Regions from separate parts of the Homo sapiens genome. Here all the other regions are linked to region 1. The links are contacts of gene promoters, found by promoter capture Hi-C in blood cells and fetal thymus (Javierre and others, 2016). All regions are on one chromosome and are shown on one strand. Each heading gives the region's core, a stretch centred on a gene start or on the middle of the fragment in contact. The rest is flanking DNA. Distances are from core to core; before and after follow the strand shown.

Region 1 (5,203 bases), core at 956-3,455:
TCAGGAGTTCAAGACCAGCCTGGCCAACATGGTAAAACCCCATCTGTACTAAAAGTGCAAAAGTTAGCTGGGTGTGGTGGCATGGGTCTGTAATCCCAGCTACTCAGGAGGCTGAGGTAGGAGAATCGCTGGAACCCAGGAGGTGGAGGTTGCAGTAAGCCAAGATCACGCCACTGCATTCCAGCCTGGGTGACAGGGCAAGATTCCATCTCAAAAAAATAAAAAATTAAAAAATGAAGAGACACCTGGACCCAGAGGTAGGTGCCAACAGAGAAATTTCTTCCTGGAAAATATTAGCTGCTATTTATTTAGCACCTACCATGTGTAGGATATGTTACATAACCATGGGTATAACCAGGCATGTTGACGCCAAAGCCTCTTTCCACTCCACCATACTGTGTCGATGCCAGTGACATTGGGACTCCAGCCCCAGCCCCTCCAGAGAGAGGGCAAGACATAGATGAAGGTCTCTGCTGAGCACAATGCATAGGTATTTTTTTTTAAGTTGGATAGTTTGCTTTTTAGGTGACATCAAAATGTCCTCATGACCATATCAAAATGGCTGTACCAAAACCTCATCGTTCAAACTTGCTGGTGACTTCACACCACTCACATAGACTCACGGTGTCTTGGTTTCCTCAACTAGGGAATGACATCACAAAACCAACCCTGCCTACCTCCTCGTTGGTATCAAGGGAGAATGAGACGAAGGTGTGAAAGCCCAGGGCAAGTGGGTTTACTAAATGGAAGCCTGTGTGACCCCATTTTTTATCACCTAAAGCCACAGAGGTCTAGCGGCACTAGGAGATAAGCAGAGAGAGTTGCTTTCCTGACTCCTGGCTCAGTGTTCTTTCTGCTACTTTAGCACATCCAGGGGCGGGACAAGGATGGAGAGAGAATTCCAGATCTGGCTCTGGGAAGACCTATGTCCAGGCACCAGACAGCTGCCTTCTACCTAAACCCCTGAAATTGGCATCTCCTCTCCAGATGTTAAAGGATCTATAATTCCCCTAGTGAAGGGGGAAAGTGATGGCACAAAATAGGAGCAGCTTCAATGGCCCCAGGCACTGTGGCAATTGCACAAAGGGAACTGGGGGTCAGGGATGGAGCTTGACCCGCTGCTGCCCTTGTGCCGGACGGTCCCACTGCTGGCTTGGGCTGCTGTCAGGATGGGCAAAGGGAGGGGAAGCCCATGTCTGAGATCTGCTGGCTGCAGAGCCAGGAGGAACAGCAGGAGTTGATCATGCTGCCTGTGGGGCTCAGCTCCACCTCACTCAGTGATCCCGTGAGGACCTCTTTTTTTCTACCTCTAGGAAGGGCAGGATGATGCGATGACACACATTTATGTCTCCCATGGCAGGAATCTGCTAGAGCAAAGCGAGGTGGAATTGCAAAGGATTTCAGAGGTTCTTGGAAGCCCAGAAAAAAGGAGCTGAACATGCCTTTGCCAGAAAGCCACAAGTGGGAAACCTCAAAGAATGGAAGAGGACTTGCTAGGTGCCATACTTTATGCGCACTATCTAATTCCAGGTCTGTTGGTGTTCAATAAATCCTTGATTAATTAAACTAAACTGAAAAATATGAAACAATTCCTATTTCATTCTAGAGGTTACAAAGCTATTTCACCTGTGTTTTCTCATTTGAACCCACATTGACCCTGAATGATAGGTGTTATTTCTATCTTTGTTTTACAGATTAAGAAACTGAGGATCAGAGAGGTTAGGTGGCTTGTCTAAGGCCACACAGTTAATCAACTATGAGGAGTTAGGAAATCCAGGCACAGACCAAGCTGAAAGAGTAGAATTACATATGCTGACCACAGAGGTCCCTTCCCACCTGCTGATATTTCTCAGAAAAGGATGGGGGGCTTCCACACACGTGCATCCCTACTCGTCCCACTGCGATATGCACGCTTACTCCCCAGCCACACACAGTCACACAGTCTGCCTCCTTGTCCTTGTCACCCCACTATCTAGGAGACTGGGAGTTGGGAATGGAGGGGGTTACCTGAGCCATCGTCCCGAGCCCTTTCCAGATAGCATCCCGTCTGGGGATCCCAGAGCAGTAACACTTACTTTTAGCCACTTCCTTCTCTCCCGTTGATCTGACTTCAGGGACACAGCCTGCTGGCCAGTTGGTAACCCCTGCCTCTCTAGGAGCTACTGGCAGGGCACTGGACGCTGCTGCCAAAACTGAAACTCTGCTCAGTGTTTGACCCACACCTGGGCTCTTAAAGGGCCACTCTCCCACAGGCACCGTGGCCAGCCAGGGTCATGTGACTCTCACAGATCCCTTGCTTTCCTTTCATTTTGGCCTTCCTGGCTGGCTCCATTTGGTTTCCTTTGACCTTGGGGAGACTCTGTTACTTGGGAATCCTCCATCGTTGCAGCTTCAGGATGAGGGACAGAATGTCAAGCGTGAAGATGCTGTTCTGTCGCTTTCTAGCTGCAAGACCTTTGGCAAGTCACCTTCCTATTTCTTTTCATCTGGAAAAGAGGGATGGTAATACCAAATCTACAGGTAGAGGATATAGCCCGGTATTAGCTCTAAAATACCTGGCCCAATGCTTGATTTGAAGTTGACATCATCTGATGGGGCACAGGTGGCAGGAGTGGCTGTCGTAGTCCTTGGTCTCATATCCCCAGTTGCTCTGGAATCCCCTCCGACTCCCTAGGTTACTTAGCCTGGACAAAAATGCCCCTTATACACCTCCTGCCAAGCCCCTTTTACCAGTCCCAGAGCTCCAGGAACTGGCAGGACTGTGGCCCTTCCTGTTTCACTCCCCAGAGTCATGAAAGACTCGCTGCTTCTGGGCTCCCCTGAACATGGCTGACCTCAGAGTCTTGTTAGGACCCGGGCTCGGCTCCATAGCAAGGACGGTGCTGACCTGCTGAGCTGAAGTAGCACCTCCTTCCCTATCTGTTAGTCCATGCCAAAACATGACCTGGTTGGGACTCCCAGGTGTTCCCCAAATGATCGTGGCAGTCCTGTGACAAAAGTGAAGCCCACTCCCCAACACACACGTGTATGGCCCCCCGACCCCTCACTGCAAACCCCCACAGAAATGCTGCCCATCCTACCTGTGCAGGGCTGACCCAGGCTCTCCCTACAGAGTCCTATAGGCCAAACACCAGAAGGGGAAGGAAAAATAGAGAAATAGAGCCCTGGAGAAACACAAGGCAGCCAGAGCCCTGGGTCTTATTTTAGCTAACCACTGGCTCACTTGTGGGTGTTAACACACAATCACAGATTTCAATGGCAAGCAAAAAAACCCCATAATTTCTTTATGTAGCTTAATTTCTCTCTTTTTTTGTGGTTTGCAAACTTAGATTTTCTTTTTTTATTTTGTTTTAGGTTCCAGGATTACATGTGCAGAACGTGCAGGTTTGTGACACAGGTAAACGTGTGCCATGATGGTTTCCTGCACCCGTCAACCCACCACCTAGGTATTAAGCCCCACATGCATTAGCTATTAGTTCTAATGCTCTCCCTCCCCCCACCCCCCCCAACAGGCCCGGATGTGTAATGTTCCCCTCCCTGTGTCCGTGTGTTCTCATTGTTCAGCTCCCATTTATGAGTGAGAACATGTGGTGTTTGGTTTTCTGTTCCTGTGTTAGTTTGATGAGGATGATGGCTTCCAGATGTAGCTTAATTTCAAACCCTAAACCCATAATCTGACTGATAAAAGAAAACAAGTTACCTAGTCACTTCTAGGCAAGCTCAGCCCAATTCAGTGATCTCTCAGTCACTTCACTCCAGATTTAAAATTTAGCCTCATTATGGAGTTCCCTTCCTTTTTGTCTCCCTTCTCTCCCCTGGGGTCCAGTCTGGAGAGAGCGGTCTTGGGTGAGGGGGTGGTCAATGTTACTGCTGAGGCAGTGAAAAGGGGTGGCCCATTATTATTTTGGTCTTGCTTTGTCACGATGCTGTGCTGGCCTTGGGCTCCAGAAGGAAATAGTTTTGTCTACTGAGATGTGACTTCCCCTGCTTGGTCAGTGGGCTTTGTCCCTGCTCATCCTGAGGGTTCTGTGGTCCACACTGTGCCCTCCTAGTCCATACACTGAGCTCCCTGGGGTGGGTCTTCCAGGCCCTCAGCCTCTCCTTGCCCACCTTGTGGGTGCAGGGTGAGTTTGGCTGATCACAGACTCCTGAGGCCTTTGGGAGATCCTGTGCAGCAGAGTCACATTTTCCCCCAACACTCTTGTAACCTCCTGTGTGCCAGTGTTCCCATATAATTGGGGGTACAATGGATATCAGCAAGACTGTGGACCACCAAAGTTCTCTACAGGATGGGCGAAGGTGAGGGCCCCTCAATCTGGAGTTTTCAAGCCCACCTGGATATCTCTATCATTGTTAATCCCCTCTCCCCTACTGTAGCCTGGACTCTGCCCCATGGTGGTGGGTGGGAGGGCACCAAGACACATCAGTAACTAAGCTCTCCTTTTTACTCTTCAGCAGTCTTTCTCCTCCCCAGTTCTGGGGTTAATGTCTAGCAGGAGGATGCGAGGGGAGACAAGATATGCAGGTGCAGAGATGAGACAAGCCTGGTTCTGTCAGATTATAGCTCCTTTCAAAGGATTCCCGATTTATACCTCTCTCCATTTGAACTCAATAGTCAAAATATTTGTAGGGTTTGTTTCTTCCTTCCCAAAGCAAGAAATAAGTTGTGTCCAGTTGTCCAGGCTGGAGTAGAAGTCAAGGCAGGTTCACAGAACACTAGTGCAGAAATTTGACGAGCAAAGGCTTGCAGGGAGGAAGGGGAGAACACTCATTAAATCATTTCTTCTCATGCTGCCTTGGTGGGCGTGGAGGACAGGTTGCAGATTTCCTTCCCTGCTTTGCTATTTCATGATGGTGGGTAATTTACTAGATCATGTCCTGCTGCATGTTTTCAATAGTCTCCAAAACTGTCTTAGCTGACCCATGTCAGACACACACACATACACATACACACACACACACCCCACATACCTGGAGCCCACTGATCCTACTGATCCAGTTTACAGAAAGGGGAAAATGAGAAGTAGAGCCCTGGGAAGAGGCAGGGAGTCAAAAATCCTACGTCCTATTCTGGGCTCAGCCACACGCCGGTGGTGTGATTGGACTCACTTGCTTCCCCTCTCGCACTGTGGTTTCCCCATCTGGAACCCAGTGGCCCTAAAATAGTACTATTTCTCAGCCCTGGGGGAGGAGGGACAGGCCA
Region 2 (4,435 bases), core at 841-3,340, 190 kb before region 1:
CTCTCTCTCTCTTTCTGTTTTTCTTTCTTTCTTCTTTCTTTGTTTCTTTCTCCTTCCTTCCTTTTCTTTCTTTCTTCTTTCTTTCTCCTTTCCTTCCTTCCTTCCTCTCTCTTTCTTCTTTCTTTCTTTTCTTTCTTTCTTTCTTTCCTCCTTTCTTTCTTTCTTCTTCTTTCTTTGTTTTTCTCCTTCCTTCCTTCCTTTTTCTTTCTTTCTTCTTTCTTTCTCCCTCCCTTCCATCCGTCCTTTCTTCCTTCCCTCTTTCTTTCTTTTCTTTCTTCTTTTTTTTTCAGCGTCTTGGCTCTGTCACCCAGGCTGGAGTGCAGTGGCATGATCACAACTCACTGCAACCTCAAACTCCCGGGCTCAAGCGATCCTCCCACCTCAGCCGCTCAAGTAGCTGGGATTACAGGCATGTACCACCACACCTAGCTAATTTTTTGTATTTTTTTTGTAGAGATGGGGTTTTGCCACATTGCTCAGGCTGGTCTTGAACTCCTGAACTCAAGTGATCTACCTACCTTGGCCTCCCAAAGTGCTGGGTCTACAGGCGTGAGCCACTGTGCCCGGCCTCCTAGGAAACAATTTCTTGATGGTGATTTTCCATCTTTTTGCTGTGTAGGAAAGAGATTGAGCTCCATGGTAATATGTGAGAGAGAAGAGACTCAAGGGACTAAGAACCTGTACCACAAAAGGAAGGTCTGTTTTGGAGATTTGCTGGAGCTTCCCCATTGGATGTGTCATTGAATGATGATTCATCCTGGCCAAAAATAAAAGCTTCTTAAGCTGGGTGACTCTAAGTTTGTGTGTGGTTTACGCTTGGACATGCGTTACTTTTATGACATAAAAGTGACTTCAATCTGGTAAGATATATTTATAAACATAGAGGTCCTTTCATTTATTAGGAAATTCCAATTGTGTTACGGGGTCTTCTCAAGAGATCTAAATCTATTCTCCTCTAAGATTTAGGAAATCTAAGCCGGGCATGGTGTCACTCCTGTAGTCCAAACACCTTGGAAGGCCGAGACGGGTGGATCACTCAAGGCCAGGAGTTTGAGGCCAGCCTGGCCAACGTGGTGAAAGCCTGTCTCTACTAAAAATAGAAAAATTAGCCAGGTGTGGTGGCATGCACCTGTAATCCCAGCTACTTGGGAGGCTGAGACATGGGAATCACTTGAACCTGGGAGGCAGAGGTTGGAATGAACCACTACACTCCAGCCTGGGTGACAGAGTGAGACTGTCAAAAAAAAAAAAAAAAAAGTTTGAAGAAATCTGGAATGATCATTTGTCCAGTATATGAAACTCTGAGAATACTACACATGTGGAAACTAGAATCTATCAGAAATTCCAGGATGCTCAAATATCTTCTCCCTCTCCTTCATTCACAAATGATTTGAACACTTATATTTTTCCTTCTACTGCTTTCTACTGATTTTCCTTCTACTGCTGTGAGTCTGATGGGCTTCAATACCATTGTGGTTGACTTATCCAAATGTGACTTTTCAATTCTGTGACTTTTATATCTCCAATGACCTTTTCTTTGCCTCTACACAGCAATTTGCTCTAACGGTTACAGCCTGGATTTTGTTATTCCTCAAAATGATACCACCTCCAAAAATCCCTTCATTTGAGCATTCCATTCTCTTGCCACAGCCTCCTCTCTTTAGTGATTCAGATACTCCCACTACAACTCTTCCTTGACCTCATGATCAACATGCTTCCTTTTCTTTTTTCAGCTCTCTCCTGCCTTTATTTCCTGCATTATTGAACTTAGACTGCTTGGTTCATCTTTTCATTCAGGCTCTTAGCTATACAGACATACCTTAGAGATATTGTGGATTTGGTTCCAGACCACTGCAAGACAGTGAATATCACAACAAAGCCAGTCCCACAAATTTTTTGGTTTCCCAGTGTATGTAAAAGTTATGTTTATACTAGACTGTAGTCTATTAAGTGTGCAATAGCAGTATGCCTAAAAAAGTACATCAATATACATATCTTATTTGAAAATACTTTATTGCTAAAAATGCTAATGATCACATGAACCTTCAGTGAGTTGTAATCTTTTTGCTGGTGGAGGGTCTCACCTTGATGTTGATGGCTGCTGATTAAGGTGGTGGTTGCTGAAGGCTGAGGTGGTTGTAGCAATTTCTTAAAATAGACAGCAGTGAAGTTTGCTGGATTGATTGACTCTTTCACAACAGATTTCTCTGTAGCATGTGACGCTGTTTGATAGCATTTTGCCTACAGTGGAACATCTTTCAAAAGTGGAGTCAGTTCTCTCAGGCCTGTCTGCTGCTTTACCAATTATGTTTATGGAGTACTCTAAATGTTTTGTTGTCATTTCAACAATATTCACAGCATCTTCCCCAGGAGTAGATTCCCTCTTAGTAACCACTTTCCTTGCTCATTCATAAGAAGCAACTCTTCATCTGTTCAAGTTTGATCATGAGATTGCAGCAACTCAGTCACATATTTTCAGTCTGCATTTCTAGTTCTCTTGCTATTTCCACCACATCTGCAGTGATTTCCTCCACTGAAGTCTTGAACTCCTCAAAGTCATTCATGAGGGTTGAAATTAACTTCTTCCAAACTTCTGCTAAAGTTGATATTTTGACCTTCTCCCATGAATCACGAGTGTTCTTAATGGCATCTAGAATGGTGAATCTTTTCCAGAATGGTTTCAATTTACCTTTCCCACACCCATCAAAGGAATCATTATGGCAGCTATAGCCTCACACAATGCATTTCTTAAATAATAAGACTTAAAAGCCAAAATTACTCCCTGATCCAGGGGCTGCAGAGTAGATGTTAGCAGGCAGGAAAACAACATTCACCTTTTTGTAAATCTCCATCAGAGCTCTTGGGTGACCAGGAGCATTGTCAATGAGCAGTAATATTTTGAAAAACATCTTTTTTCTGAGCAGTAGATCTCAACAGTGGGCTTAAAATATTAAGTAAACCATGCTGTAAAGAGATGTATTGTCATCTTGGCTTTATTGTTCCATTGATAGAGCATAGGCAGAGTAGAATTAGTATAATTATTAAGGGTCCTAGGATTTTTAGAATGGTAAATGCCCTCAAGGTGGGCGGATCACAAGGTCAAGAGATCAAGACCATCCTGGCCAACATGGTGAAACCCCATCTCTACTAAAAATACAAAAATTAGCTGGGCATGGTTGCGCATGCCTGCAGTCCCAGCTACTCGAGAGGCTGAGGCAGGAGAATCACTTGAACCTGGGAGGCAGAGGTTGCAGTGAGCCAAGTTTTCGCCACTGCACTCCAGCCTGGTGACAGAGCGAGACTCCGTCTCAAAAAAAAAATAAAAATAAAAATAAAAAAGGACCTTGGCCTCAACTTAGAGTCACCAGCTGCATCAGCCCCTAACAAGACAGTAAGCCTGTCCTTGGAAGCTTTGAAGTTAGGCATTGACTTCTTTCTAGCTATGAAAGCCCTAGATGACATTTTCTTCCAATATAAGAATGTTTTATCTACATTGAAAATCCATTCTTTAATGTAGCCACTTTTATCCATGATCTTAGCTAGATCTTCTGTTTAATTTGCTGCAGCTTCTACGTTAGCACTTGCTGTTTCACCTTGTACTTTTACGTTAAGAAGATGGTTCTTTTTCCTTAAACCTCATGAACCAACTACTCATAGCTTCCAACTTCTCTTCTGCAGCTTCTTCTAATCCAGAGCAAGGACCTTGAATTGAAGAGAGTGAGGGCCTTACTCTGGATTATGCTTTGACTTAAGGGAGTGTTGTGGTGGATTTGATCTATCCAGATCCCTCAAACTTTCTCTGTATCAGCAATAAGGCTGTTTCACTGACTTACCATCTGTGTATTCAGTGGAGTATCACTTTTAATTTCCTTCAGAAACTTTTCCTTCACATTTACTGGCTGTTTGGTACAAAAGCCCTAGCTTTTGGCCTGTCTCAGCTTTCAACATGCCTTCCTCACTAAGCTTAATCATCTCTAGGTTTTAATTTGAAGTAAGAGATGTGTGAGTCTTCCTTCTCCTTGAACACTTAGAGACCATTGTAGGATTATTATTTGGCCTAATTTCAATATTGTTACATCTCAAATAATAGAGAGGTCCTAGGAGAAGGAGAGAGCTGGAAGAGCAGGCAGTTGGTGGAGAAGTCAGAGCACATACAACATAAATGAAATGTGAAATTACTTTCTAAACCCCATGGAGGGAAATGAACAATTCCCTTTTCCCCTAAAATAATGCTACTAAAGCAATTAGACTTAGTCTAGACAAGACAGAAGATGTATAAGTGAAACATTAGAAGATCCTTAAATGAAGAGTGAATTGTAGTTGTTGGTGAAAAACAAGATTAATTTTATATTTGCTACCATAAAGTTTTTGTGTATCACTTATATCAATAATGTTATCAAAAGCTTACAAAAACAAAAATAGATTTACTTTTTAA
Region 3 (3,233 bases), core at 248-2,747, 170 kb before region 1:
AGGGATTAAGAAGCTCCTTCTAATGCAGGTTTCCCTCATGTAGAGTGCTTCCCTAAACCACTGGTCTTTCAGGTCTGGAAACGCTCTAAGCAGAGGCAATTTAAATTTCCCTGCTGCAAGGCATGGGGAGCATCTTCACCTCGAATCAGACATTTCTTTACTTCTCCTAGCCAATAAAGTATAGAGCGCCAGCAGGATCTTATAAGTTTCTCAGCACGAGAGAGAACGCATTTACTTTATAAGGCAGGTTTCCTGCACATTTACTGTATCATCTGGCTTAGCTTAACTCACCAAACCCATGGCTTGATCTAGGATTCTCTTAAGAATTTAAGTTTGGGGGAATAGGTGTTGGGGATGGAGGTGGAGGCGCAGGAGGAGGGTTCTTATAGTTCCAGGAGAATGTCTAGTTCAGGCAGTCCCAGGAAGAGAGAAAGGACAGGAAGGAATCATACTCACAAAGAAAGTCTTCACTCTGCTGAAGGCATCTCGGAGATCTCGAAGCATGTTAGGCAGGTTGCCTGGGAAGTGGGTGCAGCTGTTCTCAGACTGGGTGCCCTGGCCTGGGCTGGCCCTCACCCCAGTCAGGAGGACCAGGCAACAGAGCAGTGCTGAGCTGTGCATGCCTTCTTTTGCAAGTCTGTCTTGTGGTTTGGTTTTGCAAGAGCAAGCCCCTGATGTGTAGACCTTCACCTCTCTGTCCCCCTTTTATATTGTAAGCTCAGGGAGGCCTCTTCATTCATTAAAAAGCCACAATCAAGGTTTCCCGGCACAGGATTTTTTCTGCTTAGAGCTCCTCCTTCTCTAACCTCTCTAATAAACTTAGTTTTCAATTTTTGCATCGTAAGCAAAAATGATTGGTTGAACATGAACTTCTGCATTACAGCTATTTTTAGGATGGGCTACCTCTCTTAGAATAATTTTTTAGCTTCTCAATTAAAAAAAGTTGATTTCCTGGGGAGAACAGCTGTTCTGTGCGCAGAGGCCCTCAGCTGTGGGTTCTCATTCGCGTGTTCCTAGGTCACAGTGACGTGGACAAATTGCCCATTCCAGAATACAATGGGATTGAGAAATAATTGGGTCCCCCCAACCTGGGATGAATACCCAAGACTTCTCCTTGCTAACTTAGGCAGTCACCTTAGGTCTCTGGGCCTTAGTTTCCCCAAGTAAAAATGAGGGGGTGGGCTAAATATCCTCAAAGTTCCCAAGCAGCCCTTCCATTTTACTTTCCAGAGACTGGCTTCCTACAGTACAGGCGGGGTCACAGGATGTGTTCCAGGCTCCTTTACCCCGATTTCATTAGGATTCTCAGGCACATGTTTCCACCTCTTCAGCTGTCCCCCACCCCAACTGTGCTTGGGGGAAGTGGGTAAGAGTAGTCTGCACTTGCTGAAAGCTTCTTATATGCTAGTCAGGTAGTGCTCACCATGACCCCTACCGTCTCTATTTTATAGTGAGCAAACTGAGGCACAGAGATATTACATCACCTGTACAAGGGTACACCAGTGCCAACTGAGAATTTGGTTTCCTCACCCTACTGTACACCATCTCCAGCACATAGAATGAAACCTTGGATTAAATTGGCCTTAGAGTTTCTTTTAGTTGTAAGCTTCTGTGGCTGGAGTCTAAAGTTTAAAAGATGGGGTGGAAGAAGTTGAAATAACAAGGAAAAGAAGTCAGGATTCCATGGAGGCTGGATAGGAGGTCCCTTACTTTCCTCTTACCTATCCCTACTTCCCCTTCCCAAAGAAGCCTTAGTAGTGTTGTCTTGGATTTGTGTGTGTGTGTGTGTGTGTGTGTGTGTGTGTGTGTGTGTGTGTAGAAGGTAAGGGGAGCCAGTTGGGTTGCGGCGAGGAGTGTTGCTCTACCTGGGGAAGGACCGGGGCAGTGACATCAGGACTTCTTCAGATATCTGGAAAGTCTCTGGGGATCCTTTGATTGAGCCTTCACCTTCCCCTTCCACAGGGGCTTTGCCTGCCATTCCAGTTTAGACTGTAACTGGGAGGAACACTGACCTAGGTGCAGGAGGCCTGGGCTCTGCCTTGGCCCTGCCACTCTATAGTCAGGGCAAATCACTCATCCTCCCTGTGTCTGTTTTTCATCTGTCCCAACAGGGCAATAGCACCTGTCCTCCTGCCTGCCAGGGAGCATTGAGCTTAAGTAGCCATGGACCCAGATGGAGGGCATTTCCAGTGTTCTGCTAGTTCTTCACCTTTCTGCATCAGCAATGGGACAACTCCAGTGGCAGCAGGTTCTGAGCTTGCTGCACTAGAGAAGGTCACTCACTGCAAGGGGTGCAAACACCTTGGGGCCCAGCCAGCGTGAAGTGAGTGGGAGGGAGGGATGAGAGGGCCCACGCCCACCCTGTGGATGTCCCTGCTGTGTGACCTATGGATCAGGGTCAGGGGACTGTGGTGTCTCTTCCCAACTCTTCAGGGAGTGTCAATGTAGAAACCTAAGAATCAGGAAGTGAGAAAGAGCCTGCTAGAAACTAGTATGGAGCTAACTCAGAACTTACTGGTCCTGCCAGACTTAGACTGGCTTAAGGGTTCTGTCTGAGTTCTGCTGCCAGGAAGCAGAGAGAAGGGGACCAGGACCTGGGTTTCCCCTTCTTGCACCTTTCTCCTTCCCCCTCGGCTCCTGGGTTTTCTGGGCTGTGTCTGTGTTAGCCTGCAGGTCTAACCCCCTCTCTGAGCTGGGTGTTCCAGAAGTGGACTCAGCATGGGCACCAGGCAGGCCAGGGGTTCTGGACTCTGGGTGAGGCTGTGAACCCCTCCTTCCTTTGTTTCCCATCTTGCCTTGTGCTTACCTCACTAGGAAACCTGCAACCCTACGTGGTTATCATTCATGTACACACCATGCCCTGCCGAATCAGCTTTGAGCTCCCTGAAACAGGACATTGTTTTATTAATCTTTGCGTACTTGGTACTTAGCACCAAGTCTGGCCCTTGGAAGGTATCAGCTATACTTGGGATGGGCATAGAAGAGTGCCCTGTAAGCCTGGAGGGTGCGAGGCTAAGGAGGTGGTCTGGGCACAGGTAAGCATTCAGAAGGAGAGGGAGAGTGACTCAGGGATGCAGGCAGCCTCCCTTCAATTTCCTTATATGAGATGTGTGTGTAAATACACACACACACACATACAAAATGTCAGGGAGAAGGGAGGTATGTAAAAGCCATTTGTACCTTTCTTTCATCTATAATCTGTTAAATAGGGTTGAGGTTAGGATCTGACTTCT
Region 4 (4,439 bases), core at 1,100-3,599, 130 kb before region 1:
AAGTCATAACCAGACATATCTTAAAAGCAACTATATAAAAGAGACATCCATGGGAGAGGAAGAAAGATAAAAATGATAGCAAATTTCTCATTGGAAGTAATGCAAATAAGAAGATGGCAAAGCAGTATCTTTAAAGTACAGTAAGTCCTCACTTAACATTGTAGATAGGTTCTTGAAAATGGCAACTTTTAGCAAAATGATGTACAGCAGGCCCTCGAATAACATTGTTTCCTTCGACATTTTTTCATTACAATGTTGATGAGAAAAAAATGCTTTTATTATACGTTGTTTTGTTTAAAGTTTCCAAGAACCTACTGATGACATTGAGGACCTACTGTACTGAAAACAAAACAAAACAAAACAAAACAAAAAAACCTGCCAGCCTAAAATTCTGTATCCAGTGAAATTATCTCTGAAAAATAAAGATGAAATAAAGGCTTTTCAGGCATATAAAAGTTGAAAAAATGCATTGCCAGCAGACCTGCACTAATGTCCTTTAGGCAGGAAGAAAATGATATCAGATGGAATTCTGAATATATGCAAAGAAATAAAGGGCACTGGAAATGGTACTACATGCGTAAATGTATAAGATTTTAAGAATATCTTTAAAAGATAATTATTTTTAAAAAATAATGTACTTTGGAATTTATAAAATAGGTATAGGTAAAATGTATGAAAATAATAGCATAAAAGCTGGGAGTGAAGAAACGGAAGTACACTATCATAAGGCTCTTATACCTTACATGAAATATATAGTATGATTTGAAGGCAGACTGTGGTGAGTTAAAAGCATATGGTACATATGAAACCCTAAAGCAGCCACTGCCACTAATATAATAAAACAAAGTTATATACAATAAGTCAACAAAGGAGATAAAATGGAATAATGAAAATACTTAATGAAATCAAAAGAAGGCAGAAAAAGGGGCAAAGGTATTTAAAAAAAGATGGTACAAATAGAAAACAAATAGCAAGAGGATAGCCCCAAACCTAGCCATATCAATAATCACATTAAATACAAATGGCCTAAATATGACCATTAAAAAGGAGACATAATCAGACTGAATTTTTAAAGAAAATACGTGAGAACAAACTATATGAGAGACATACTTTAAAAACACAAATAGGTTAACAGTGAAAGAATGCAGAAAATGGAGAAAGATATACTATGCTAATGAACTGTCCCTCAGTGAGTTAAAGAAACCAATGACTAAATTTTTGGGCTTATAAGATAGCAGATAAGAAAAGAAACAACTTGCTGAAAAGCTGAAACTGAAACTGTGCACCAAAGAGTAAGAAACCAGTAACTAACAGAAACTCTTGAGCTGGCAGGATATCAGATAAGAAGCAACTTGCTGAAACGCTGAAACTCCCTTGGCTTCTGATATCAAGAAAAAAAAACTGGCTGAAATCAGTTGGAACCAAGATGGCCTACTGGAGTTTGCACAGAATGAGCTTGCTGACATCACAGCCTAAATTTCCACCATATGTTTCATACTAACTCCCCCTGATTTGCACATGAGACCTGTGATCTAGCATGAAGAGATAACTGCGCATGCCTAAGGACTTTCCAGACCTCCCTTTCCTTCCACCAATCACCTACTGATCTCAGAATCTACCCCCTGAACTTTTCCTAAAATAAATATTGTCTTGAAGCCAGCACAGGGAGACAGATTTGAGCTTGACACTCTTATTTTCTTGTGAGTCAACTTGCAATATAAAGCTTTTCTTTTCTCAAAAACTCAATGTCATTATATTGGCTTCTAGCACATCCAGCAGCAAGACACTTTTGTGCAGTAACACTAATAATGGTCAAAAGAAAGCTGGCTATCTACATATGTCTACCTATTTATCTAGAGGCATAAATCTCATCTATATCTCTATCACACATATTTCAGAGAGGCATATTACCAGGGATAAAGAAGGTCATTTCATAATGATAAAGAGGTAAATTTATCAAGAGGACATAACAGTCTTAAGTGTTTATGCACCTAATAACAGAGCTTTAAAGTAGATAAAACTTCACAGAACTACAAGGAGATATAGAAAAATTTACAATTATGGTAGAAGATTTCTTTTTTTTTTTTTTTAATTTGAGACAAAGTCTTTCTCTTTTGCCCAGGCTGGAGTGCAATGGTGCAATCTTGTCTCACTGCAACCTCTGCCTTCTGGGTTCAAGCGATTCTCCTGCCTCAGCCTCCTGAGTAGCTAAGATTGCAGGCGTGTGCCACCACTACCAGCTAATAGTAGTATTTTTAGTAGAGATGGGGTTTCACCATGTTGGCCAGGCTGGTCTCAAACTCCTGACCTCAAGTGATCTGCCTGCCTCAGCCTCCAAAAGTGCTGGGATTGCAGGCGTGAGCCACCACGCCCGGCCAATTATGGTAGAAGATTTCAATACCCATTTCTCAATAATCCATAGAATAAGGAGGCAGAGTTAGCAAGGATATAGTAGACTTAAATAACACTGTCAACCAAGTTGGCCTAATTAACATATATAGAACACTCTACCTAACAATATTAGAATGTTCATCCTTTTTGAGTGCAAACAGAATCTTTACCAAGACAGACCATATTCTGGGCCGATAAACTGGAAGTAGCTCAAATGTCCATCAGAAGGAGAATGGGCAAACAAATTGCGGCATAGCCATATAATGGCTACTACTAAGCATTAGAAAGAAATTAATTGGTCATACATGCAACACCATGGACAAATCTCAAGATAATTATGTTCAGTTGAAACCAGACAAAAAAGACTACATACTGTATGATTCTATTTACATAATATACTAGAAAACCCAAATTAGTCTATACTTTCGGAAAGCAGATTAGTGCTTGCCTGAGCAGGGTTGGAGTGGGGATGTGGGTGAGAGGGTAGGAGAAAAGGATTAAAATAGAGCAGGAGAAACTGCTGGGGCTACTGAGTATGTTCACAGTTTAATTGAGGTGATGGTTTTATGGATGTCTGGATATGCCAAAGCTTATCAAATTGTACACTTTCGTTACAATAAAAAGTCAGCCCATTTAGAAGTTTATAAAGAAAAGTGAAAATTGTTTCTCTGCTCCAGATCTTACTTAGGTTTAGAGTTTGTATTTTCTTTCTTTCTTTCTTTCTTTTTTCTTTTTCTTTCTTTTTTTTTTTTTGAGGCAGAGTCTAGTTCTGTCGCCCAGACTGGAGTGCAGTGGCATGATCTTGGCTCACTGCAACCTCCGCCTCCCAGGTTCAAGCGATTCTCCTGCCTCAGCCTCCTGAGTAGCTGGGATTACAGGCACCTGCCACAGCGCCCAGGTAATTTTTGTATTTTTAGTAGAGATGGGGTTTCACTGTGTTGGCCAGGCTGGTCTCGAACTCCTGACCTCGTGATCTGCCTGCCTTGGCCTCCCAAAGTGCTGGGATTACAGGCGTGAGCCACCACACCCAGCTTATTTTTTCTTTTAAGGGATGGGTCTTGCTGTGTTGCTTGGGCTGGCCTCAAACTCCTGGGCTCAAGCAATCCTCCTGTCTCAGAGTTTAGCATTTCTTAACATCATCTTAACCCACACTGTTCAATATAATAACCTACTAGCCACAAGTGGCCATCCAAATTTAAATTAATTACAATTAAAATGTAAAACTGGGCTGGGTACAGTAGCTCACGCCTGTAATCCCAGCACTTTGGGAGGCTGAGGCGGGCAGATCACGAGGTCAGGAGTTCCAGATCAGCCTGGCCAATATGGTGAAACCCCATCTCTACTAAAAATACAAAAATTAGCCGGGTGTGTTGGTGTGTGCCTGTAGTTCTAGCTACTCGGGAGGCTGAGGCAGAAGAATCCCTTGAACCTGGGAGGCGGAGGTTGCAGTGAGCCAAGATGTGACACTAACTCTACCCTGGGTGACAGAGCAAGACTCCGTCTAAAAAAAAAAAAAGGAAAACTCAGTCCTTAGTTGCAATAGGCACATTCCAAGAACTCAATAGCCATTTGTGGCTAGAGGCCAACATATTGGAGAGTTCAGATTATAGAACATTTCTGCCATTAGAGAAAGTTCTTTTGGATAGCTTTTTCCTGGGCTATGTAGAGACTCAGCACTATTACAAGCAACTTAGATCTTTCACTGGCCGCTTATTGAGCACTTACTTTTGCCAGAAACTGCCAGGTCCTTTATATGAATTATCTCTAATTCTTGCAGGGAAAGACTAAGAGAAGCTTGAATAATTTTCCAAGGGTCGCAGTTACTAACTGGTATACCTAACATGTAAACCTATGTCTATCTAACCCCAAAGCCTAAGTTCTTATGTGGGTCTCATATCTCCTGTGACTGGGCCATCCCCCTTTCCTTCTATACTTGTGAAGGATTCTTTTCATATTCAACCATGGAGTCTTATATTTATCCCTCCTAAATTTTGTCTTGTTGGATTAAGCTTATTGCTCCAGATTGTCAAAATATTTTAGGATCCTCA
Region 5 (4,523 bases), core at 744-3,243, 260 kb before region 1:
CTTACTATTTTTTGTACAAGAACATGGGAATTCTATTATTTTTATTTTTATTTTTTTTGAGACAGAGTGTTGCTCTGTCGCCCAGGTTAGAGTGCAGTAGCACGATCTTGGCTCACTGCAAGCTCTGCTTCCCAGGTCCACGCCATTCTGCCTCAGCCTCCTGAGTAGCTGGGACTACAGGCGCCCGTCACCATGCCCGGCTAATTTTTTGTATTTTTAGTAGAGATGGGGTTTCACTGTGTTATTCAGGATGGTCTTGATCTCCTGACCTCGTGATCTGCCTGCCTCAGCCTGCCTAAGTGCTGGGATTACAGGTGTGAGCTACCGCGCCCGGCCTGTATTACTTCTTTGATAAGGACACCTAGTCTCAACCCACTTGTGTATTAATTAGTTGTATTCCCCGGGAGGGTTCCTCAGCTGCTTGCCGCTTCACTGTGTCATGGTGACCCTTAGGTGTTAGCTCAACAAATTTAATTAAAGACTGTATCGTTGTTCTCTGCTGTGCAACTCTGATTAGGTGAAGCATGTTACTGCTTTATAAAATATAGAATGTTGTCGTAACTTATCTCTGTGTATCTTTCCATTGCGTGGATTAGAGAAAACAAGGTCCTGTAGTTTCTTTTCCTTTCCTTTCTCCAGCATTCCTCTCTCCCTAGGTCATGGAAGTGCCACTGCGATGTGGCTTCCTTTGTTCTGGTGAAGGGGAGATGATTGGAGCCTCTCATGATTATTCTGGATGCTGTTGGAGGGAAATGCCAGAGCTCCCACATCCCCACAGTACAGGCACCATCTCCTTTCCAACACACCTCATACTGTGTACCTGTGGAGGGCAAGACAGTTAGTGTGGCTAGGTGAGAGGCAGTGTCCCAAACTGGAGTTTGCTGGAGTTGTCACAAGGTTAGGAAAATTTCATTGACCAAGCCAGCCTCTTTTATATGCAATATGGTTACAGGTAGGTAACAGTTTGCTGAATATCTATCATAAGCTTAGTTGCATGGAGGATACACATGTAAAAAATGGCCTGTAAAATTTTGAGTCAAGAAACTTATTTAGAGAAGGTGAAATTAACACATGTAGGCTAGGGCTGCACTGTCCAATCTGGTAGCCACTACCCTCACATAGCTAATTAAATTAAAATTAATTAACATGAATGGATTAAACTAAATTAAATTTGAAAAATCAGTTGCTAGCCACACTTCAAGTGTTCAGTAAACATGTGGCTAATGGCTATCGAATTGAACAATGCAGAAGAACATTTTCATCCTTGCAGAACGTTCTCCTAGACTTTGTTGGTCTGGGAGCTAAATCGTGTGGCTGGGAATAGAGGAGCTTTGAAAGAGGGGAATCTGTGGTGACTCCAGGAGCTAAGGGAGGCTCCAGCTGGGGTCAGTGGGACATGGCTGTGCCTCTGAGGAGTGAGCAAGTCTGTGAGAGGTGTGGTGACATTGGCCTGGCTAGAACTGAGGGGAGGAACAGGAGGTCAGAGTGGTCAGGGGTTGGTGGCTCCAAATTGAAGCTAACTCATCTTGTGTCAAAGCAGGCTTTAAAGTGTTTGAGGGGCATGAAGGTGTCAAAAAAGGTTAGGAATCATTGAAGATGGGCTTACAGAATTATGAGGGAAGGGTCAGGTTTGTGGTTTCAGAGATCCTGTCCCTCCTGGCCGTAGCCCTGACCCCAGCCCTGACCCCTGGCTCCTGCAGCAGGGCCCTTGGCATCCACTGAGGCAAGATTGAAGCTGGGTCAGCTCACTGTCCTTTTTTACTTGTGAATTCTGGGCTTTGACTGAGCTTGGAGACAATCTCCAGCTAAGATACGGGATCAGTGGCTGACAGGAGGGGAGAGACAAGCAGTCCCTGGGCCTTAGGGCCAAATATTGGTGGGTGTCTAGGAAACAAAAGAACCCCTTTGTGGGAGGAGGAAGGTATTGGGACCTGTGATGTTTCTGCTACTTGGGACCTGAGAGGTTGGGCCATCCATAATTGATGATTTTTCTTATGAAGCAGGTACAGGGGATTGGGAGGAGGGCCTGGAAGAGCCCAGCCTCAGAACTGCTGGAGGCAAACTTAATCCTTGGGCTAGGGGAGGGGCCAAAGCTCCTGTTAGCCAGAGCCCAGGAGTGTGCTGAGTGGGTGCCAGGAGGAATGTCAGCCAAGATGGGGAAGAGCAGGGCACAGTCGTCTGCATCTGAGCCATTGCCCAGTTCCCAAGCAGCCTTGCCATGCTCTGAGCTGGGGTTCTTCCTGGTGGCGTGATGTCTGTGGTGCAGGATTCACTCTATTCTCCTACCTTTCCTCTACTTCAGGCCCTGCCAAGTGTCATGTGAGGTCTCTTTTCCCCCTCTTCCCTGCACTGTATCTTTCCAGATGGTTCTGTGTCCTGGAGGGAGGTGGATGGGCAGAGAAGAGTTGTTCTTTGCAGGGACTGCAGCTTTTCTTGGTAATGGTTTGAGGCCCAGTGGCAAAGCAACCCACACTTCATAGTAACTTAGAACCCACACTCCCTGGTCATCTTTCTTGACTCCTTGCACATCACTGAGGAAGAAGCTGGCCTAGTGCAGAAATGTTCAGTGGCATGTCCAAGGTCTTACATGGTGTCAGCATCCGAGCCACATCTTGAGACCTGGTTCCCTGGGACCTGCTCTTGGTCTGGGCCCCTTTGGTTTTTGGTTGCTAGAAGACTGTAGACCTGGTGGAGCAAAACTGAGCTCCACTAACGCATCAGCTAGGATCTTTCCACATGGGTTACCTTGTAAATGGGGGCATTGGTGAAGAGAAGGGGCCATGTCACTGGACAGTGTAATAACGTATGGCAGTTATAGAACCCAAATCAGATTGCTGTGTACCTTTTCTAGTTTTTAGGAAAATACTGGTATTTTGTATTTTAAGATATATATATATATATATATATACACACATACACAGATATAGATATGTAGAGATGAGCTTGTTACCATGGGTTATGTGCTAGATAAGAAAGCAAAAATAAGTGCATACATAAATAGAAAGCTTCCAGTGTTTGTATGCTGCTAACAAGTTACATGACCTTGAATAGGTCAGCTAAACTTTCCAGGCCTCATTGCACAGAGGGTCGGCTCGAGCAGCTCCTGAGCACCGGCAGGGTGAGGCAGTAGAAGGCGGTGCTGCAGGCCAGAGGTGGAGGGCAGGCAGGATAGCTTGCTGACTTGCTCCGGGTCTGACCATCAGCAGTATCTGGGTCAGCACAGATGCCCTTTCGTAAGCTTAGTGCCTGGCTCCAGGGCAGCCTGTGTCCAGTTAATGAATAATCATCACTGACCAGCTGCTCCTTCTCTTGTGTGAAGACTTAGAAAGTGTTCTATGCTGGTGACTCGGCAGAGAGGATAGACTACGTAATTTAGCAGGGTGTGCATCTTCTCTTTCCTTAAAATCAGAAGAATCATAGTGTAGTGGTGGTGCAAAGTAGAGATGAGGAACTCTATTCCCTGTTTGAGATTCCTTTCTCAAGTTATGGGGCATTTGAGGGCCACTGTGATTTCTGGTGCAGGCTGTTCCCTGTGCACAGGGATCTGGTTGAGGAGCTAAGCGAAGGCTGAAGTCCAGCCACTGTCTCCTTGCTTGGCTTTGTCTTTGTGTGTGGCTGGGTTCTTTCAAAGGAGTGCCTTCTAATTCACCAAAGGTATGGTTATGGATTAGGGGTTGTTCTTAGGTTAGAGTTGGGGACTGATTCACAGAGCTGATGAGGAAATTAGGATTTACATTCAGGTGACCCTCAGCCCCTCAGACCAGGCTGAGTAAGAAGAGATATCAGGAATCCAAGGAAGCAGGAGGAAAAGGGGTTGCCTGGTGATGTCTGTTCTCTTTCCTCCTCTTCCTGCCCATGCAAGGCTAGAGCAGCTGTTTCAGCCCCGGAGGTTTAGACTGTGGGGTCCTGTGTGCTGGGCCATCAGGTTTGGTGGGAGGAGGAAGAAAGCCACAGTAGAAGGAGACATAAAGTTGGGCTGGGCCTCTGGCAGTGAAAGGTTCTTGGGGTCTTTATTGTCTGATCAGTAAACACCTCTGTGTGCCAGAATGAGCTGGGACAAGGCCCCAAGGTCAGCCCATATTTGTATCTGGTGTTCTCCTCCAAGACCAGCCAAGCTGTGCGCTCATTCTGCTGGGAACCTGAGCCCTCCAAAAGGGTCATATGAAAGGGCATCTTATTCTTGAGGGACGTTTCCAAGCATCTCTGTGGCCAGTGTCCATCCAGGACTCATCTTAGAGGTGAAGAGTGGTGGCCAGAGGCGGAAGCTAGTGGCCACCCGATGGGAGCCTTTTCTGTTTCAGAGCATATGAGGGAGCTGAGGGAGCTGTACTGTTGATGCCTTCTCTCTGGCTCATCTCCATGAAGATTCTTTTGAACCAGAAGCAAAGGTGAAGTCTCTCTGAGGGGAGGGGCTGAACAGGAGATCTACTGACTGTCCCCCTGCCGACTCCTCCACTTTCGTCCTCCGGCGGGGCTCCTTATCCTCCTGCTTGTCTACAGGGAGAAGATCGAGTTGTTCGTTT
Region 6 (4,573 bases), core at 418-2,917, 240 kb before region 1:
TTGTCCTGGCATGAAAACACTGAATAGCAGCTGCATCTGTCATGCCTGGGAAGCAGCAATGTGCAGCATGGGGTTGCATGAGTAGACACTCCTGCTGGAGGGCCAGGCTGCCGAGAGTGCCTGGGTATTGGACAAGGGAGAGGCTGGTGATTCTGAGGCAGCTGCTTGCTAATCCTGGAAGCAGAGGGGAACAAGATTTAGCTCCCTTATCTCTCTGCCTTCTCCTTTCCGATGGGTGCAATTGTGTTGACTCTTGAGGGACAGCCAGGAAGAAGCAGGTGGGCTGGATGCTTTCTCCTTTCTCCACCAACCCAAGGGCATCTGGAGGGTGGACCAGGGCAGAAAGGCGATTAGCTCTCCGTTACCCAGGGAGCTGAGACAAAGGCATTTTGGGTTAAATTCAAGGAGGAATTCAGAATTGTGAACTGGATTTATGGAAGTTTGTGGAGTTTGAAAATTCGAGAGTCCTGGCTGGACTTGTGCTTGGAACGTTGGTCGGAGGTGGATATGAATGATGGGTCCTGCAGATGGCCGACTCCTGAGAAATGACTGGGAGGCTTTACTGGATTTTTCGCTTGGAACAAACCCAGGCTTAGGGAATTCCCGGAGCCTGTTGCAGGCCTCAACACCCTTCTGGTGCAGCTTCGCTGTGAGGCAGTGGTTATTTCTCAGGAAACTGGCAACTGGGAGTAAATGGGAGTGTGGGGTGGGAATCAGCTACTCTTCCTGAGGATTATACACTTCCAGTGTAATTAAGGCGGGGTCAGGATTTCCTATCTCTTATTTATTTATTTATTTATTTATTTATTTATTTATTTATTTATTTGCTTAATCTTAAAAGGCTGCTTTTCCCCTCCTGGTCTTCCCACAGGGACAGGAGTTAGTCTGTTCCCAGAAGGAGCTAGGGGAGGTGTCCTTCATCTCCCATTCCTTCTTGCCCTCTCCCTGCCTTTCCCTGGCCACAGCCACAGAGACCCAGAGTCACTCAGATGGGGGAGGAGCAAAGCCAGTCCCTCTGATCATTGCCTCTTTGTTAGTGGAGAAAGGGCAGATGCTGCTCTGCAGTTATCCCGACCACCCTGCAGGACGTCTGGGTGGGCCGGGCTTTGGTTTGGGAATCGGGAGTATTAGCTGCAGCTGCCAACTGGGCTTGTACTTGCAGACTCCCAGGCTCCAGGCTCTCTGGAGGGGACCAGCAGCTCTGACCCCCGTGGGCTTGCTGTGGTCCCCAGGGAGCAAGCCCTTGCCAAGAACCTCTGAGCTCACCGAGGCGGGTATGGGGTAAGGATGGAGAAGGCCTGGGGAGCAGAAGTGTGCAGATGACTCCCTCCTTCCCCTCAGCTGGGTATGCATCACCGCTGCTGGGAAGACGTTCAGGCCACTTCTAGACAAATCGGTCATGATGGAAATTTTTTCTTGCCCGTGGGTGGGGCTTTACTTGTTCAGAAGTGGCTTCAGATGTGCTCTTTCTAGGTCCTGGCTTGAGTGCTGAGCATTTACCTGCAGCCCCTCGGGGCTAGAAGGCAGGGCAGTGTCTGAGCCCCTTCCCTACCCCTTGGGGCTAGAAGGCAGGGCAGTGTCTGAGCCCCTTCCCTACCCCTCATTCATTCTCTCCCCTCACCTGTCATTCCATCCGTCAGCCCCGAACAGCTTGGCAGCCTTGCGGCTCCAGCTGGAGCTTAGTAGGCATGTAGTTGGAGGAGGGAACGGCACTGCAGCCGCGCTCTTCTCTCTCCCACAGGTCTTCTTCTTGTTGGGCCTCCACTTCCTGTCAGGGCCCTGCTTGCAGCTGTGGCACATCTGGACCTAGACGGGGTATCCTGTTGTCCTGCATGATGAGGATCCCAGATTTCCCCTAGGTGATGACCACAGTCATTCCAGGGTGGGAGCAGGACTTCCCCCACCCCCAGGCACTCCAGAGACTTCCTCCAGGCCCCCACTAAGTAGTCTGTTCCCAACTCCATCTCTCCCCCATGGAGAATGGTGGGAAGGAAGTTCTGCCAGAGGTTGTTTTTGGTTTGTGAGGTAATAGACTTTGGTTTGAGAAACATACATCTCTCCCTCTTCTTTAAGATGTGAAGCCAGAAGCACCAGACTCTGGTTTCCTTGGAAACCAGAGCAGCAAAGGTAGAGAAAAAAGGGGCTGGTTGTAGGCACTGAAATTGGGGAGGATTCTCTGGATCCCAGCACTTTTCTGGGGAATCCACATGGTCTGCCCTGGGCCCTGGGTTGTAGCCCTCACTGTGTTAATGGACTGTGTAACCTTGGTAAAATGCCTGCAACTCTCTGCACCTTAGTTTCCGCCAAGATGCCTAAGGTGGGGAACATGTTGGCTCCACTCAGATTCTGTGCCCCAGAGACCTGCTGGGTGTGTGTGGGGGTTTGGGGGTAGGGCATGGGGCTCCTGCTCACTGATTTAGCATTTGCTGTGGCTAAACTACAAAGTGGACAGTCCACATGGAGACAGTTGAGAGCTACTTGCACCCAGGTCCTTTCTTTGAGAATACAGTGATGTAACAGGAGACTTCTTGCATTTTGCCTATGTGAAACCAGCTGGATTTTGCTGAAGCTGTAATTGTGTCTCTACATTCTTTGATTCCTGTCTAAAAAAAATGGTTTCCACAAATGCTGTGAAGAATAGACTGACAGAGCTGGAAAGCGTTAAGTAGGGATCCTTTAAACAGATCCCTACATTGTACATTGATCCCTTCAACCACAGCCAGAGAGGGGCAGGGACTTACTTGCTCTGATCACACAGTCAGAACAAGAACTAACAACAGTAAAGGTCTGGGTAGCAGCCTCACATATGCTAAGATTCCCTGTTGGCTAAGTTTGTCTGTTCCCAGGTCACCCTGGCCTTTTGCAATTCTGCCCTCCGCAGGCCCCTGTGTTGGCTGAAACCAGCCCTCTTCTTCCCCTTGCGCTTTCCTCCTGTGACCTCCCAGCCACCTCTTGTTTCCCCTGTGGTGTTCCCCACCTGTTGTTACTTCCTATTCCTCCTCACAACTTTTTATTATGAAACATTTCAGATGTGCAGCAAACTGGAAAGAATTGTACAGTGAACATGATTATACCAAACCACCTAGATTCAACCATTAGCCTTTTACTATGTTTACTTTATCATGTCTCTACGTGTTTCAATCTCTCTATCCATTGACCAGTCCATCTTATTTTGGGGATGCATTTTGTAGTAAATTGCAGACATCAATGTACTTTACCCCTAAACATCTCAGCATACATAGGCATTAATTTGAGTTCAATATTTGTTCATGCATTTTTTTGATGATAATATTTATATTAACAGTGAAAAATGCACAACTCTTAAGGTATCACCTGATAAGCTTTGATAAATGCCTCTATCTGTGCAACCCAAACCTCTGTCAACTATAGAACAAAAAGTTTTATTACCTAATTAATTCCCTCGTGTTGTTTCCCAATCATCCCAACACATACCCCCTCGCAAGTGATCACAGTTCTGATGTTTTCTCACTGTAGATTAGTTTTGCTTTTTCTGGAACCTCATATAAATGGGATAATCAGTATGAACTCTCCCTTTTGTGTGAATTTCATCTGCATGGTGACATGTATCAGTAGTTTGTTATGCTGAGCAGTATTCCATTGTATAGATATGATAAAATTTGCTTCTCCATTCCCCTGTTGATGGACATTTGGGCTGTGTCCAGTTTTGGGCTATGATGAATAAAGCTCCTGTTAACATTCTTGCACAAATCTTGTTGTGGATGTAATGTTTTCATTTCTCCTGGGTAAACAACGAGGAGTGTGATTGCAGAGTTACAGGAGGCTGTTACTTATTGTTCCTATCTGACTCTCTGCCCTGCCCTCTCATTGTACTGTGCACCCAATTATTTTAGGACTGTTATCACATCCAGTCCCTCAGTTGCTCCTTCAGGGTTTCTCTTCTTCCGGCAATTCACCCTAGTTTATTGAACTGTTGCTCTTATGTTATGCTCCTCAGATCTTTTATATCCTGGTTGTCCTCCTCTGGAAGTATAATACTCTTTTACAGATGTGTTGCCCAGAACTGAGTTCTCGCTGCTCGATGTGATCTACATGTGGATTCTAGGTATGGGAGAAATATAGAGTGTGGGTGCATTTGGATCCCTGTCTTGAGCTAGGTACTTGATCTGTGAGCTGAAGGAAATATTAACTTTTTGGCAGCCACGTCATGGCATCAGATCAGATGAGTTAATGTTTGTAAAAATACCACAAATCTAAGGTCATATTAAGATATCCATTCAGCTTGAAGTCAGTCCGAGCCTCTGATACTAATGGCATTTATTATGAACTTTCTACTTGCCATTGTGTCATTTAGTTTTTGCCTACCACTTGGTGAGAAAGGTACTATTCAAATTAGCTTAATAAAAACTCCTTGATTTAAAACTAGGGTACTTAGCTTTGGCACTGTTGACCTTTTGGACCAGATAAGCCTTTGTTTGTTGTGGGGGATTGTCCTGTGCTTTGTAGGAGTTAGCAGCATCCCTGGCCTCTACCCACTTGATGCCAGTTGCAACCATCTATCTACCCATGCCCCCAAGTTATGACAACAGAAAAT

What was found. Contacts are between HindIII fragments. The CHiCAGO score rates a contact against its expected background, and 5 or more counts as called.
Region 2: a contact is called between a fragment that was not itself captured here and the fragment with the promoter of PIGR in region 1, in 3 of 17 cell types (naive B cells, total B cells and non-activated CD4 T cells). The highest score is 7.7, in naive B cells.
Region 3: a contact is called between a fragment that was not itself captured here and the fragment with the promoter of PIGR in region 1, in 4 of 17 cell types (non-activated CD4 T cells, naive CD4 T cells, total B cells and 1 more). The highest score is 6.6, in non-activated CD4 T cells.
Region 4: a contact is called between a fragment that was not itself captured here and the fragment with the promoter of PIGR in region 1, in 3 of 17 cell types (non-activated CD4 T cells, naive CD4 T cells and naive CD8 T cells). The highest score is 6.8, in non-activated CD4 T cells.
Region 5: a contact is called between a fragment that was not itself captured here and the fragment with the promoter of PIGR in region 1, in 7 of 17 cell types (non-activated CD4 T cells, total CD8 T cells, naive CD4 T cells and 4 more). The highest score is 10.6, in non-activated CD4 T cells.
Region 6: a contact is called between a fragment that was not itself captured here and the fragment with the promoter of PIGR in region 1, in 8 of 17 cell types (non-activated CD4 T cells, naive CD4 T cells, naive CD8 T cells and 5 more). The highest score is 11.9, in non-activated CD4 T cells.

Annotation. Positions count from the first base shown.
Region 1 is chr1:206,944,261-206,949,463 of GRCh38, forward strand. PIGR (polymeric immunoglobulin receptor) reads right to left here and starts at 2,206. Exons shown (of 11, transcript NM_002644.4): 1 at 2,076-2,206. The HindIII fragment of the contact is 20,587 bases long and covers 1-5,203 here.
Region 2 is chr1:206,752,571-206,757,005 of GRCh38, forward strand. No RefSeq gene overlaps it. Among named protein-coding and RNA genes, the nearest start is that of IL19, 16 kb to the right of the region's middle. The HindIII fragment of the contact is 2,636 bases long and covers 773-3,408 here.
Region 3 is chr1:206,771,815-206,775,047 of GRCh38, forward strand. IL10 (interleukin 10) reads right to left here and starts at 680. Exons shown (of 5, transcript NM_000572.3): 1 at 457-680. The coding sequence starts at 621. The region is part of intron 1 of IL19 (interleukin 19); the gene reads left to right. RefSeq lists cis regulatory regions at 309-930, 391-930. The HindIII fragment of the contact is 213 bases long and covers 1,392-1,604 here.
Region 4 is chr1:206,815,687-206,820,125 of GRCh38, forward strand. All of the region lies in intron 2 of IL19 (interleukin 19), which reads left to right. Among named protein-coding and RNA genes, the nearest start is that of IL10, 45 kb to the left of the region's middle. The HindIII fragment of the contact is 1,257 bases long and covers 1,722-2,978 here.
Region 5 is chr1:206,688,598-206,693,120 of GRCh38, forward strand. The region is part of intron 1 of MAPKAPK2 (MAPK activated protein kinase 2); the gene reads left to right. Among named protein-coding and RNA genes, the nearest start is that of MAPKAPK2, 6.0 kb to the left of the region's middle. RefSeq lists an enhancer at 1-36. The HindIII fragment of the contact is 2,020 bases long and covers 984-3,003 here.
Region 6 is chr1:206,705,334-206,709,906 of GRCh38, forward strand. All of the region lies in intron 1 of MAPKAPK2 (MAPK activated protein kinase 2), which reads left to right. Among named protein-coding and RNA genes, the nearest start is that of MAPKAPK2, 23 kb to the left of the region's middle. The HindIII fragment of the contact is 3,344 bases long and covers 1-3,339 here.